Linked DNA regions of Homo sapiens: region 1 is linked to region 2. The links are contacts of gene promoters, found by promoter capture Hi-C in human tissues and cell types (Jung and others, 2019). All regions are on one chromosome and are shown on one strand. Each heading gives the region's core, a stretch centred on a gene start or on the middle of the fragment in contact. The rest is flanking DNA. Distances are from core to core; before and after follow the strand shown.

Evidence for each region. Contacts are between HindIII fragments. The study calls those that stand out against the background at their distance.
Region 1: a contact is called between a fragment that was not itself captured here and the fragment with the promoter of TAF3 in region 2, in 1 of the 25 tissues and cell types used here (spleen).

The regions. Positions count from the first base shown.
Region 1 is chr10:7,753,425-7,756,237 of GRCh38, reverse strand. It overlaps KIN (Kin17 DNA and RNA binding protein), which reads left to right. Exons shown (of 13, transcript NM_012311.4): 13 at 96-2,813. The coding sequence ends at 158. Among named protein-coding and RNA genes, the nearest start is that of KIN, 33 kb to the left of the region's middle. The HindIII fragment of the contact is 4,534 bases long and covers 1-2,813 here.
Region 2 is chr10:7,816,539-7,819,764 of GRCh38, reverse strand. TAF3 (TATA-box binding protein associated factor 3) reads right to left here and starts at 1,260. Exons shown (of 7, transcript NM_031923.4): 1 at 890-1,260. The coding sequence starts at 1,055. LOC105376392 (a long non-coding RNA gene) reads left to right here and starts at 1,402. Exons shown (of 3, transcript XR_001747356.1): 1 at 1,402-1,513. RefSeq lists enhancers at 548-1,065, 1,194-1,253, 1,066-1,584. The HindIII fragment of the contact is 13,699 bases long and covers 1-3,226 here.

The DNA.
Region 1 (2,813 bases), core at 196-2,695, 64 kb after region 2:
GAAAAGGCAAATTTGTATCCATAAGTATGGTGTCATTTTTTTGTCTTTTAGGAATATGTGTTTTTAACCTTATTTTAAATTATTTTAATTTGTAGGGCCCTTTAAAAGGACGCAGAGTTGAAGGAATTCAATATGAAGACATTTCTAAACTTGCCTGAGTTTGAAAATTTGTTAACAATACATTAAAATCTTAAAGCATCAAATTGGTGTTCGCCAAGGCATTATGAGACTCTACTGTGTTAGGGTATATTCTTTTGTATAAAACAAACAGGTTTTTGAAAATATTACTGTATAGTTGTTCAGCTAAACTTTGAGAAGAATTTAATTATGTCTCATGAGGTATCAAACTATGTAATTTTGTCCTTGTTATTTTTGTTTCCTTTGTAATTTACTTGATGAGTTTATATCTTCATTAAAGAATGTTATTATAAAGTGTTTTATCTATGACAATTTAGAATCATGTAATTGGAGGAAATCCTTCATACACTCTATATTTTCAGTAGTAGAGTAGTAAAGTTGAACTCTAAGTGTGACTAAATTTTAAATGTCAAACTATAAATATAGAAGCAGCTTTATTGTGGTAATAATTCATATACCATACAGTTCACTCATTTAAAATATACATACAATTCAGTGGTTTTTAGTATTTTTGCAGAATTGTGCAGCCATCACCACTGTCTGATTTTAAAACACTTTCATACCCCAAAATGAAACCCTTTAATAGTCAATCGCTATTTTTCCCCTCTGCCCTAGCCCTAGACAGCCACTAATGTACTTTCTGTCTCTATGGATTTGCCCTTTCTGGACATTTCTTATAAATGGAATCATATAATATGTGATCTTTTATGACTGGCTTCTTACACTTAGCATCATGTTTTCAAGGTTTATCCATGCAGTAGCATGTAGGCGTGCTTCATTTGTTTTTATGGCTGCTTAATATTCCACTGTATGGATGTACCGTATTTTGTTTGTCCATTCATCAGCTGATAAACATTTAGATTGTTTCTACTTTTTGGCTATTGTGAATAATGCTGCCATGATCACCCATTTACAGGATTTTATGTGAACAGAAGCTTTCGCTTCTGCCAAACTCTTCCAGAGCAGCTATACCATTTTACAGTCCTACCAGCAATGTTGAACTATAGTTTTATTTGTTTTTAATTTTTTTACTTTTAGAGACATGGTCTCACTGTGTTGCCCAGGCTGCTGTCAAACTCCTGGGCTCAAGTGATCCTCCTGCCTCAGCCTCCCAAAGTGCTAGGATTGCAGGTGTGAGCCACAGCACCCTGCCTAACCATACAGTTTGAAATAAGTAGGGCAGTGTATTATTAGGGAATGCAAAAGACAGGAAACCCACATTTGCCTGTGCCAAAGGAAAAACGAAGGGATATTTGTAGTGCACATGACTGAAAGGAGCAGACGCTAGCTTCCAGGGCAGCGGGACCGGGTGTGAACAGCCTTCCCTGGGCTTCCGCTCTGTCTCTGGCTCCTGTGCTGGCTCTCTACATTTACATTCTTGAGCACTCTAGGTTTACATCTTACCCTTCAGCAGCACCGGGAAGAGAGAGATGATCTATCTTTTCTTTTTCTTTTTTTTTTTTTTTCTGACACAGAGTCTCACTCTGTCACCCAGGCTGATTGCAGTAGTGCAATCTCGGCTCACTGCAACCTCCACCTCCCGGGTTCAAGCCATTCTCCTGCCTCAGCCTCCTGAGTAGCTGGGACTACAGGCATGCGCCACCACGCCCAGCTAATTTTTGTAATTTTAGAAGAGATGAGGTTTCACCATGTTGGCCAGGATGGTCTCGATCTCTTGACCTTATGATCTGCCCGCCTCAGCCTCCCAAAGTGCTGGGATTACAGGCATGAGCCACTACGCCTCTTTTTTTTTGTTCTGTTTTTTGAGATAGGGTCTTGCTCTGTCATCCAGCCTGGAGTGCAGTGGCACAATCATGGCTCACTGCAGCCTCGTCCTCCTGGGCTTAGGTCATTGATTCTCCCACCTCAGCCTCCCGAGTAGCTGGGACTACAGGCATGCACTACCATGCCTGGCTAATTTTTTTGATTTTTAGTAGAGATGAGGTCTTGCTATGTTGCCCAGGCTGGTCTCAAACTCTTGAGCTCAAGCAATCCTCCTGCCTCGGCCTTCTAAAATGTTGTGATTACAGGTGTGAGCTACCACGCCTTGCCTGAGTTGATCTTCTACAAGAGTTCAAACAAAAAACAGACCATACCAGGATGATCACTTCAAACATGAGGATGGGTATAAGCTGACGTCAGACACAGGTATGGTGCCAAACCCTGGGATCTCTCTCTTTAACTGAGAGTCAGGGAGGGCTGATTGCTTCTATTCTCAGAAGATGGGAGAACGTATGCTGTTAGCAGAAATGTAAGAGGCAGTAAAGAAATACTAATAGGATGATGGCAGAAGCTTTACAGAAAATGTTCCTCAGGGATGAATTAAGGTTTTTCCAAAGTAACCTGACAGCACATTATGGAAAGCAACTGGGTTTTGGGTGTGGGCAGTCTTTAGATCAAATTCTGGCAGTTCTGTTCATTGGCTTTGTAATATTAGAATGTTAATGTTCTTGAATTGCAATGTTTTTAATGTATAAATTGTCAAAATGTTTTTCAGCAGGGTTGATGGGAGACCTACAGAAAATACATATAAATCATCAGACATGAAGTCCAGCACATAGTAGGTATTGAATAAATGGCAGTGAGTGGTCATGTCCAGAAATGAAGCCAAGAAGTTGAGCCTGGACTACTAAGAATCTGGTCTGAAGAATTTCAAAAAGGAGAATGGTTCTCCC
Region 2 (3,226 bases), core at 11-2,510:
GCTCACCACCTTAAACATCATGACTTGAAACTAAAATGAGTGGTAGTTTCCTCTCCTCAACAAACACACATACAATGCTTCACATCAACAAGATAATGTGGAGCTTCTATTAAAATATTCCATTCCTTCCATTAAATTATTAAATACCACTAGCTATAGATATTACCAGACATTCATTTAAAACTCATAAGTACTGTAGCCCAGATTACCTGGAGAATCTTGTCAACTGCCCACGGTCCCTCTATCCTACTTCGATAGCCACTGACATCTCACTGGTAACCGAGACGTAAGTGAAAGTACATCTAATCAGCGAAACTGACAAAGTCAGCCTTGGAAAAACAGTAAATGGAGATGTCGTTCACGAAACGAACAGATACAGAAAGACGAGGCAGTGTCCCTAACGGAGCAGAGCTGTCAACGAGTCTATGTAGTTAGGAGCCCAGGAATGGCCAGTCTTGTAAGAAACGGCCGGTAGACGGAGCGCCTGTGACAACTAGTTGTAGTAGTTTGCGGGCAAGGGAGAAAAAGGACCGAGGTAAAAGAGGGTGTAGGGCACGCTGGGGGTGGATCTACCCGCAGCAAACAGGAGACAATGAGAGAGATCCAGACACAATTCAGAGCGGAGGAGCGGTAGGAGGGTGTGGAGCTGGGAGCGAAGACCCGACTCCCGGGCTGGTGGCGGGAAGTTAGCGGATAAGGAAGAGGCACCCGAAGGATGACTAGAGTTTGGAGCGGCAGTGGAAGCCCAGGGACGTGGGAGGCCGAGGAAACAGCAGATCTCGAGGCGGGGTGCGGGATGCACACCCCGGGGACGCGGAGGGACAGGGAGAGCGAAGGTGTCACCCTTGACTTGCCGGGGCAGCCCTCCCGCACCCAGCCCGGTACTCACAGAGCTCAGAGTACCGATGGCAGCCCCGGCCCAGCTGCTGCAGATAGCGCTGCAGCACGTCCGTGAGGAGGTGGCAGGCGCTGAGCTGCACCGAGTCCCAGCCCAGCGCCTGGCAGATCTGCGCCACCGAGACCCTCAACAACGACCTGGAGTAACTCTCGCACATCCCGCTGCGTGGACGCCACCGCAGCCCTTGCTGCCACTGCTCTCCAGCCCCGCCGCCAGACCTTAGCAGGGTCCCCGATTCATCCTCTAGGGCTTCCGCGGCGGGGAAAGGGTCCCCCGGACCCCCGGCGACCACCTCAAAGCCCCAGCAGCACGGAGCGCGCCAGCCTGAGAGCCGCCATTTTGGACTCGCTCCGCCTCCCGCTGGACGGCCGCCGGGGCGAGGCAGCATAAGCCGAATGCCGAGCGCGGCGATGAGAAAGCTCCGCCCCTTGGGAGCGGAACGATTCCTCGGGATCGCCTCTGAGGCCTGGAAGCCGGCCGGAAGCGGGCGTGGGGCGCGCAGGTGGAGGAGGCGCCCAGGGCGGCAGGTGCTGGGGCGCTCACCTGGGGGACAGCGGTGACGAAAACGCCAGTGTTTTAGAGGCAAACGAGGGATCTGGGATACGACATTGACAGGTTAGAGAGTTAGCACTAATAACGTTAGTCATATTAGAGAGTTATGTGCTAGAGAGAAGTTTGGGGCGTGGGAACTTACGGAGCTCGCCAAACGCAGACCTGCGCTGGTGTTGCCTCAGCTAAAAATCTGTGTATTGAGCTGCTTGCCACTGCAAAGATTAAATAAAGTCCAAGCTGTTCCGCATGCCCTTCAAAGCCCTTCGCAATAGGGCAGGAACTAGGAGGACTCTGTGCCAAATTAATGGGGGCCTCAAAAAACTCAGTCATCAAGATCGATAATATTTTAACAGTTTTTTTAAAAAAATCCAAATCCATGCCATAAACTCCTGACTCACTCATGTCATTCTAATCCCAGCCCTGGTTCCAATAAAACTTTTTTTTTTTTTTTTTTTTTAAAAAAAACAGGTAAGCTGCCTGTGGGCTATAGTGTGCGATTTGAGCATCGCGGCTGTGACCTATCGGGGGATGGGGACCTCGGCTGCCTACAGAGGCCAAACCGAGCCTTAAACCGGTGTCGCAGGCCGAGTGTCCTGGGAACGGTTGCCTACCCCAGAGCCTTCTCCCAGCTCCATCCAAGTATTGCCAGAAATCGGATTTAGGGATAAATATCTTGATTTTTAAATACAGAATTGGGAACACATCTCAAAAGCCAAACTGATCCCACGGTTAGTCTAGATTCAGCCTGCAGGTCGCCCGATTGTAGTGGCTGAACTATGCGGTTTCTTAAATATGCCCTTCTGTACTTATCACAGTGTATTTAGTTTATGTGCTCCTCCAATAAATTGCGAGTTTATGAGTGGCTCTATATTCCTCCGACAGGGACTATTCCAGAACTTTGAACATGATATTCACATTTTTCAAAGTCTGGGAAACTCAATAATAGAACTGAAATTATGGTTCTTCAGCTAAATGACGATCTGCAGAGAAGCAAGGTACTAAAGGGCAAGGTGCCTGCATTTACTCCCTGGACACTCTGTCCCCAAGTTATCAGGAACATTGTGTTGCTAAATCTATGAGACATTTTTCAGTCCTAGCCGTACTTGATTATTTTGTAGCTATTTGATAATGTTGAACGCTTCTGTAACATTGAAACTCTCTTGCGCCTTGGATTTCACAAATCTGTCCCGCTACCGCCGCCACCCTGGGTGTTTGTTCCTCTTCATTTGCCTTTCTGTGTATAGGGGAGGGGATTTTATTTCGGAAAATTTCAAACCTACAGAAAAGTTGAAACAAAATCATAGACTCACGTGTACACTTCAACTAGATTCACCAATTGTTAACATTTTGCCAATTTACTATATATTTTGTATTTATATATGCACGCAGGTATTTTTTTTCCAGCAGTTTGAAAATAAGCTGCAAACTTCATGACACTTAACCCCACCACACCTCGACATGTATCACCCCAAAACAAGAACATTCCCCCACATAACTATACACAAGACCATATGTCACAGGCTTGGTTCCCCAGGAAGTCAACTCTGAAATAGAGATGAGCCTGCAGAAAGTTCATTGAGGGATCCTCCTGGGACTTGGGGGAAGGAGTGAAAGCCAGGGTGCAGTGAATTCCTTGGCAAGAAAGCCTCAGCCAAGCCAATGCCATAGTGTGCAGAAGCTGGAGTGGCCCTTCAGAGCTTCCCTGAATCCAAACAAGAAGACTGGACCTTTATATTCCCATAGGAACAGGTCACTGCATGAGGGCTACCTGGGAAA